2 separate regions of the Homo sapiens genome follow, and region 2 is linked to region 1. Evidence: promoter capture Hi-C in human tissues and cell types (Jung and others, 2019). All regions are on one chromosome and are shown on one strand. The core of a region is centred on a gene start or on the middle of the fragment in contact, and the rest is flanking DNA. Distances in the headings are between cores, read along the strand shown.

Region 1 (4,566 bases), core at 1,966-4,465:
ATTGTACTTTTTTAATATTAATTGATCCCCAAAGAACCAATTTTGCACATATGGTAAATTAGATTCATTTACATCCATCAACTCAGTTGAAAGGCTTTAGCACAACAGACAGCAATTCCACCTGTCCAGTTGAACTTCTAAAAGACTGGAGACGACCTTTCTTCAGGACCACGGACAGCGCTCCTGGCATTCATTATTCTGGAGTAGTACATTGAAAGTAGCACAATAAATAACTAACATGATATTTGAGTGACAATGTGTAAATTTCTACTACACAGAGTAAAGGAATTGGAATTATTGCATTGTTCACATTATCAAGAGGACTATTTTATCAACTGTGTTGTGTGTATTTTTCAGTGCAATTGCTTGATAAGCCCAAGATGTAGTTATCTTTTTTTGTAATAGGGCATACTGTTAAAAAAACTACTTATATTAATTGTGAGATTCCTCATGAACACTAAACTACTTGATTGTCAGTACAAAAAAAAATTGCTAGAAAGACCACAATTCAGAATGCCAAATAACATGCTGTCAATATTCAGTGGCTAAAGACATTTTTTAAATGTACAATTAGTTATCACTTTCAATTCTCCACCTCCAGATTTCCATCTGTTACTAGGGTAATGAGATTAATTCTTGTTCTTTCACATTAAACTCACTCACTTCCTGGGGGGGGGGGGAATGCTAAATTTACATCCCTATACTACAATAAAATGATTTGGTGGCATAGTTGATGCCTTAACATGTGGCAATTTTGAAGTTATTACAAGTTTCTCCCCAATACTGATACCACACATCATAGTTCTGAGGTTATATGAAGGATTAATAAATTCCTTACACAGTATTTCACTGACTAGATTTAACCCTTTTAAAAATTGTGTCAGTTCTGTAATTTGCTTCTTCCTTAAAGGAAAGAGAAAACTACTGCTATTGGATATCAGGCAATTATATATACTTAGTAAGATTTATATATTTTATTCTATGGTCTCATTTTTTTCCTCATTTTAACCATATGGCACTCTTTATTTCTATGAGCCAAAGCTCTGTAGATTCCAAGGTCAAAGCAGAGATAACAAACTGCAAAAACACACATACACGCACACCCAGAGAGAAGCTGTATTTAGAAGTATACCTCAAAAAAATCATAGAAGGCTGACACAAATATCAAACCTATGATAAATTGACAAAGAAGAAAATGCATATCATGTTAATGCAAAGCTTCTTCCAACAATAACAAAAAAACCCACTAGCTTCATCTTTCACTATATTTTTATATTTGCAGATACTAATGACCTCTTATTCTTGGGCACTATTACTTGAGAAACAATTTTAGTTTCCTATTCTGCCAGTGAAAATGAATCTTATTCTAGTTAGCTGCCACCTGCTGGGGTATGAGAAAATGTGTAATAATCTTTATAGCACAACATTTAAAAAGACAATGCCTATACCTTTTGCTGGAAACAGCAAATACATACCCCAGAACAACCTGAATTTCAAAGATGTTTCAAAGGTTCTTACATGCCATAGCTATATTTAAATTTTTCACATGGAATTCTTACTAAGGATTCCACTTGACTTGTCACGGAAGTCCTGCTGTTATGTGACATTTGAAAAACCTCATCTTATAGTAACACCTAACCTATTATTCCATGCAAGTGGCCTGTTGCATAGCAATTTAGCTAAAACAAACAGCCTGTTTATACATGGCATTAAAGATCTCAGAGAATAAAGTCAGGACTGAGTCAGGTTTCAGTTGAAATCACACTGTTGCATACTTGCAACTCACTCTTCTTAACTATGCATGCTGTGGTATCCCTTATGATTCTGAACACATTATCAGCTGTTCCAGCAACATTCTGCTGCATTGATGATTAATGACATTTAGAGTTTTGATTAATTTTTAGACACTAAAATAAGTGTATCTTAATTAACAAATTGAAGTGGAATAAATTTACATATCCCAGAACTTTTTTTTTTAAATTTCAGCCTGTGTGATTTTCAATGGGTTTAAATAGGAGAAAACAAACAGATAAGACTTCCAAACATTGCTCAATTCTCTATCACCTTGCTCTTGTGCATTTCAATTTTTTGTTGTTTGTTTGACTCAAAAGTTTTTAAGGCCACTGGAAGTTGATAGGCTGCCTTGGTGGTTACAGGAATAGACTCTATAAAGTTAGAAAGTAATGAACTAAGACAAATCAAGATTGAAATACAATTGCATTTATTTCAGTAACTAAACTGACTAATTAAGACTCAAATGAACCAATCATCTCTCGTGAAATGAAAATAATCATCAATCCATAAGATAATTTCTGATGACAGAATACTTACAGTATGGAGATGAATAAACGATAGAAGATAATCTGTGCATTACCAAAAGGCTACTAATAGTAAGTTTTCTAATATTCCCCATTGCCTAAATTGGAAATTATTCTCTAAGGAGCCTCAGCTCGGTCGTGTTGTTTGGTAAAGAAACTCTATCTCCTTAAAGGTAAAAATATCAGAGGATGTGGTTCGTTAAAAGTTCTTGAGGTTTATGATCCACCCTGGTAACACTGCCCACTCCTTACCCTAATGGGACGCCCTCCAAGTTTTTTCAGAAGCTCTTAATACGGGTGCCGGTTAAAATAAATATACTTCCTCAGCGCAGAACTAAGGAGTAGGGTTAATGGAAGGATGGGTGGGCAGAAGGAGGGATGGGGAGTTCGTCAGACCCGCCGGCAGCCACACAGCTTCTTGCCATCTGTCTCATTCTCTTCGCCTCGCGTGAGTCCCCGTAGCTGAGGCCACTTCCTGACACGTCCACTTCTTAAATCATTTTATGTGGAGAACATAGGCGACTGCAGCCAACAGAGCCACTTGCATGCTTGACGGGAATTGGCTGAGATAAGCCCGACAAAGACTCGCAGTGAATCCGTCCAGCGGGCGCCCCGAGCGCACGGACGTCCGCAGCGCTACTGTTCGCCTTCTTCCTTCTCTCCAGGTGGAAAATGCCCCTCGCCCACCCGCAGTCCCTCCCGTCCTCTTGAAAACAAACACCTCGTGAAGGAGCCCGGAGTGCAGCCCACAGCCGGGGAGTCCTTACCTGGAGCTAGGGGTGAGGTGGGCGGGGAGGGGGTGGGGTGGTCCTCGGGGAGGAGCAGCCGGAGGAGGTCGGGCGGAAAAGTCCCCAGCTACCAGACCGACCAGCGCAGCCGCCGGCGCCGAGCGCGAGTGACGGCAGCGGCGAAGACGGTGACCGAGGAGCAGCAGCGGCGGCGGCGGCGGCAGAGACAGACACGCCTCCTGGCGGGGGTTCCTCGCCTCTTGCTTTAAAGGCGCCGCGCTCCTTTCCCCGTGGCCCCTGCACGCTCCTGGCCGCCGCGGCCACTCGGGGGCATCTCCCACCCCTGGACCACAGGAGCTAGAGCGAGAGAATTCCTGGTGTCCCTAGACTTGGATGTTACGAAGCCTCCGGCTGGACTTCGCTCCCTTAGCGCACACCCGCCTCCTGGGATGGGGAGACTAAGGCCAAGATGCTCTGTCAGGGAGTGAGTGATGCATGCAAAGCGCCGAGGAATTTGCCTAGCCTTGGGTGGTGACAACACATATAAGGAGCCCAAACACATTTGCTTCTGGGTGATGGCTTTTATGCCTCTCCGAAACCATAGCAACGAAACTTCTCCACTGCCAGGGCTTGGAGGGCTGCTGGTAGTCTCCAAAGTGGACCTCTTAGTCCAACTACGGTCATTTCCCTGAGGTTCGCAAAAAAAGATCTTGATCTGCGCACCCTCCCACCCCGACCTCCAGCGCATAGAGCAAATGCGCTCTGGTAGCGCTGCTGCGGGTATTCCCTCAGATGCTGGGAGTCACAGTGCCCTGCTCCCTGCCACCATTATTGAGAACAGATGCTTGGAAATTGACTTTTCCTGAGTGTTAGGAGGTCGGGCGGGCTGTCTCTGTGTATGTATGGCGCCTTAAATAGCAGACTCCCCTCTCCCCACCAAACTCCCGCCCAGGCCCCGGAACTCTCAACCTAAACACATTTCAGAAAGAAGTTGGATTCGAGATCTAGTGGGCGCCGAACCTGAGGTCGCAGACTCCAAGATTGGAGACAGGAGTCTGGGAAGCAGCCCTGGTTTGGCGGCCACTGGTCCAAGTTCTCGGGAGGACTCTTTTAAAGGCCAGAGATGGGGAGGGGCAACTGAGTCCCAGAGTCTTCCCGCAGCTTGGCTTCCAGGGAGGGGCTGGCGGCGGTGAGCGCACCAGGCTCTCCCTGCTTCACTGTGGAAACGATTAGCTTTTGCAAACAATCCCTGAGTTCCGCTCCTCTGGGTCGGAAAAGTCAACATCTATTCAAAACCGTTGCTATTTTATCCTCAGCCCTACAATATTAACTGGAGCTGAGTTTAGCAGTTTCCCCCAGAGGAAGTTGGCCAGCTCAGATTCGCGAGGAGATTTAAGTGAGGCTAAGCGGGAACAGGCCAGGCGCACTGGGCTCAAGAGACCATTTCAAACGGGCTGCATAAAGAAGGGGCCAGGGGGGATTCCACGGCTCTGCAGTCCCCTAGCAGTTCCAGTCCCTGG
Region 2 (4,254 bases), core at 852-3,351, 400 kb before region 1:
TTGTAAATATAATTTAAATAACTAGACATATTTAGGAACAATTAATCTGAATAACTATACTTGAAGCCTCACAAATTAGGTATAATTTTGCTGTAGTGCAAATGACATTTATGTTAAAAATGCATTTTATATTTTGTTGCCTAAAATATAAACATTCCTTTATTAATCTATATCTCTACATAAAGGAAAAGTAATAAAGATTCAGAAAGGTAAATGCTAACCCTCATAGATACTTTGATAGATATTTTGTTTCCCCTCACCTTTCATTTGGTATTATTTAGTAAAAATGTTAATTTTGCTTATTTGGAGTAAGAGAGAAAATTTAAATTAAACATAAAGTAAAAGGACACTTGCTAGAAAAACCACAATAATCTCACTTCATTCAGCTTGACAACAAAAGAGACAAGGCAGATGTTCTTCTCCTAACTTACCTCTTTAATTAGACTCATAAAGCGGGTCCCGAAGCGCCAGGGTTTATGTCGATTACACTGCAAGGAACTGACTGTCATCTGGGGAAACTGTTGAACGGCCACAGACACCACATGCACAGCATCATACATTAGAGCAGCATCAGTCTGAAAAGCAAGGGAAAGGGAAATTTATAGTCAATATAACTTGTAGAACTTGTGGTAGATGGTTTGCAAGGAGGAAGAGGGAAGAGGTAAGGGAAATATATATCCCATTTTTCTTTGTATAAAGAAGAAAACGTTATCTCTAACATGCTCTCGTTCTCTTAAACAAGACATTATGATCAAATTACTACATCAGCTCCATAAGAAAATTTGACCTACCCTCCTTTTCCTGAAATAACCCAATTACATATAGTCCTAGTACTGCCGTTGAAGTAGGACATGTATGAAGACAGGCTTTATTTCCTTTTTGTCACTATCTCTGATTCTTACTCTGTCTCACTTATACACACACACACACACACACACACACACAATGAGTACATTGCTAACATTTTTAATGGTCACATAAATTACATATTCTATATAAAAGTAAGTAAACAGTTTCCTTTTATAGGAAGAAACCAAGATTTTAAGGGAGACTTACTTAAAACCTTAAATTCTTTCATTGTTTTAATCTTTTAGCTTTAAAAAGATATAAACCCTGATCTTTTTCTTCAACTTAAATTTTCAAAAGTTTCAATCTCAGAAATGATGGTAGTTTTGAATCTCAATAGCTGTATTACCCGCTTTTCAAGAAACTAAGCTTAATCTCTTGTACGGTTTCCTTTCCCCAAGATTTCCATATGAATAAAAGTTCATTTGGCTTCTCAGGTAAAACAAATATGAATTCTACTGTGTTTGCACCTGCTCAAATGACCAACCACTTTGGAGGTTGATGATAAAAAAATAAAATGTTTATAAGTCATAACAAAACAGAGGCTCAGTGATTTTCAAGTGCTGTGTTAAATGGACCCTCACTCTGTGTTTGACAGATCGATGCCAGGCTTACTACCTAGAAAAGACAGCCACACTGACAATGCTCCTAGTAATGAACTTTGGCCATCTGCTTGGCATGCTTTAGAATAAAAGCATATATTTCCTCTTCTCATTCACACAATTAGTGAGCTGTGAAATGAATAGGAACCCTGTAGATTACAGCATTTGCCACAATACAATACAAAATGAGTATACACAGTAGCTTTCAACCAAATGGATCCTAAGGAGCTATACCACATAAAATGGAAGATGGCTAAAGAGCACAATGCAATAAGAGAACATAATAATATTATTTTATAGTTCATAAATCTCTTGGGAAAATAACTCAGATTCCAAACCTTCATTTTATAAATTCTACTGACTATTTTCACATACCCTGAAGGATGCATAGTGAAAACTAGTAGTGTTCATTGAGGCATACATCCTGAGCCTGAGGATTTGACTGATATTTGTCTCTGACCCGAGTTAATATTCAGAGGACATATTACATATATTACACAGGTAGTCACAAAAATCATCAACAGAATTGGGAAGATACATTTTGAGCGTTTTAAAATATATAACTGTCAACAGAAAGGGTAATTTTGCAGCACAAAACGTAAGAGAGCCTTAAAAATATTTATGTTTATTTTAACCCAGTAATTCCTCTTTCTGGAATTAGCATTAAGAAAATCGGAGCTAAGAATGAAGGCTACATATCCATTGTTTTGTTTTTAGAAAAAAAAAAAAAAAGAGTGGAAATCTACTGAATGACCAAAATAGGGAAATTTCTAAATAAATTCACGATGTTTTCTTATATAAGCACTAAAAAATCATGTTTTGAAAAATACTCAACTAGATGGAAATTAAATACATCTTAAATGGTGTTGTGTTAAATTAGATTTAGATTATACAGAACTGCATTTCCAGCATAAATCATTTTATATATATAAATGTATAAATAATGGTTTTATATATAATATATAATGGTTTCATATATTATATATAGTATGTAATATATAATATATAATATATAAAACCATTATTAATATATAACCATTATTTTATATATAATATAAACTATTATATGTAATATATACATAAAAAAAATATATAATGGTTTATTATGGAAATACAGCATAATATATATTTACTTTATAAATATATGTACAGATAATATATATTTATAGAGTAATATGAAGTATTACCTTATAAAGCAATATATATTTATAAATTAAATAGAATATCTAAAATACACATGCATGTATACTTATATATGGGTAATTAATATATTTACTTTATTCTCTGAATAATAGTATAATAAAAAATCTATTGTTAACATTTTATAAATAACAAAACCAAGGTTGGGAAAAGTGAAGAACTAATTGAAATCACACAGCTAACAAGTGGGGAAGCCCACCCTCCCTGTTCAGGAATGCTTTTGGCCACCACTACATACTATATAAACAACAAAAACAAGAAAACACAATAAAATAATAATGTTTAACTCTTGTGAATTAATCATGAGTAAAATTTTTATTTCATATTTTCCACAGTTTTTAAGATTAACACGTAATGTATGAGGAAGATTACAAAAACTATAGCAGTTATTGCCAAGATAAAAATGTTGATCTATTATGGAAAAAATAACTAAAAGAATACAATCTATAATATTTCTAATTCCAAGTTTTCATGAAAATTGCTTTTCATGACTTACTGACATATAGATAATCTAACAGGACATACATAAAAATCCTAGAGTAGTAACCTTATTTAATATGACAATGCTAGAAAATAATTTTGCCTAATTAAAAATCAAAAAATCTTTTCTGGTATATAGTTTCAGTTTCAAGATCAGGACACAGTAGTTGCTAATAAAACTCTTTGAAATCTGTTATTTTAAGTACAATTATAAAAATTAGATAATATTATTAAACTATAAGATAAATATAGCTGGGCACAGTGGCACACATCTGTAGCCCAGCTACTTGGAAGGGTAAGGTAAGAGGATCACTTGAGCCCTGAAGTTTGAGCCCAGTCTGGGCAAAATGGTGAGACTACTGTCTGTAACAATAAAATATAAATCCTTGAGAAAAAGGTACAAGTAATCTAAAAGTCGCTGATCAAACTACTTCTGGATTTCCCAGTTTAAAATATCTTTACTTATAAATCAATAAACAGAACTTCTGAAATACTTTCTATGATATTTTCTCCAGTTTGGGGTACTTTTTGGTTTTAATTTTAGACTAGTTGTTTTGGTGATATTATGTAGATTTTTCTATTTATATTTAATATCTTGTCAGATTAAACTATTGTCTTCTTTGTAAAATTGTGTGTCTATAAATCTCCTTCCTTTGAAAAACCGTGTGAAAATTCTAGTGCTTCAGAAATGTGGTTTCTCTTATTCTCACAAGAATGCTCACAAAAATGTGCCTTCTCTTATTCTCACAAATATGTGAAAATCTGTCTTCTATTAATAATATTAATAGCCAACATTCATTCAATATCTGTGTGTGAGGCACTCTCCTTAAATTAATTCCTTTAATTTCCATAACCATTATTCAGGTGCAATCCCATCAAGTATGTGTCAAATAGGAAACCAAGGCAGACAGCAGCTAAGTAACTCAAAAAACAAACCATAGCATATAGACGTAGAGCTGGATTTAATCCATATAATCTGTCCAAAGTTTATATCCTTTTCTCTGGGTTTCTCACTCAACACTCTATGGTTAATAAGCAAAGTAGTGAAGGTGGTTTTGTAGTTACACAATGTAACAAATGTCAACAAGCACTTGAATGCATAAATCTCTATATAATTTTTTCATAA

The links. The method cuts DNA at HindIII sites, captures the fragments that hold promoters and counts their contacts. A contact is called where the count stands out against the background at its distance.
Region 2: a fragment that was not itself captured here is called in contact with the fragment with the promoter of GRIK2 in region 1 in 2 of the 25 tissues and cell types used here (dorsolateral prefrontal cortex and mesendoderm cells).

The regions. Positions count from the first base shown.
Region 1 is chr6:101,392,357-101,396,922 of GRCh38, reverse strand. GRIK2 (glutamate ionotropic receptor kainate type subunit 2) reads right to left here and starts at 3,215. Exons shown (of 17, transcript NM_021956.5): 1 at 3,086-3,215. The HindIII fragment of the contact is 9,322 bases long and covers 1-3,559 here.
Region 2 is chr6:101,795,969-101,800,222 of GRCh38, reverse strand. GRIK2 (glutamate ionotropic receptor kainate type subunit 2) reads right to left here. Exons shown (of 17, transcript NM_021956.5): 8 at 432-575. Among named protein-coding and RNA genes, the nearest start is that of GRIK2, 400 kb to the right of the region's middle. The HindIII fragment of the contact is 6,851 bases long and covers 1-4,254 here.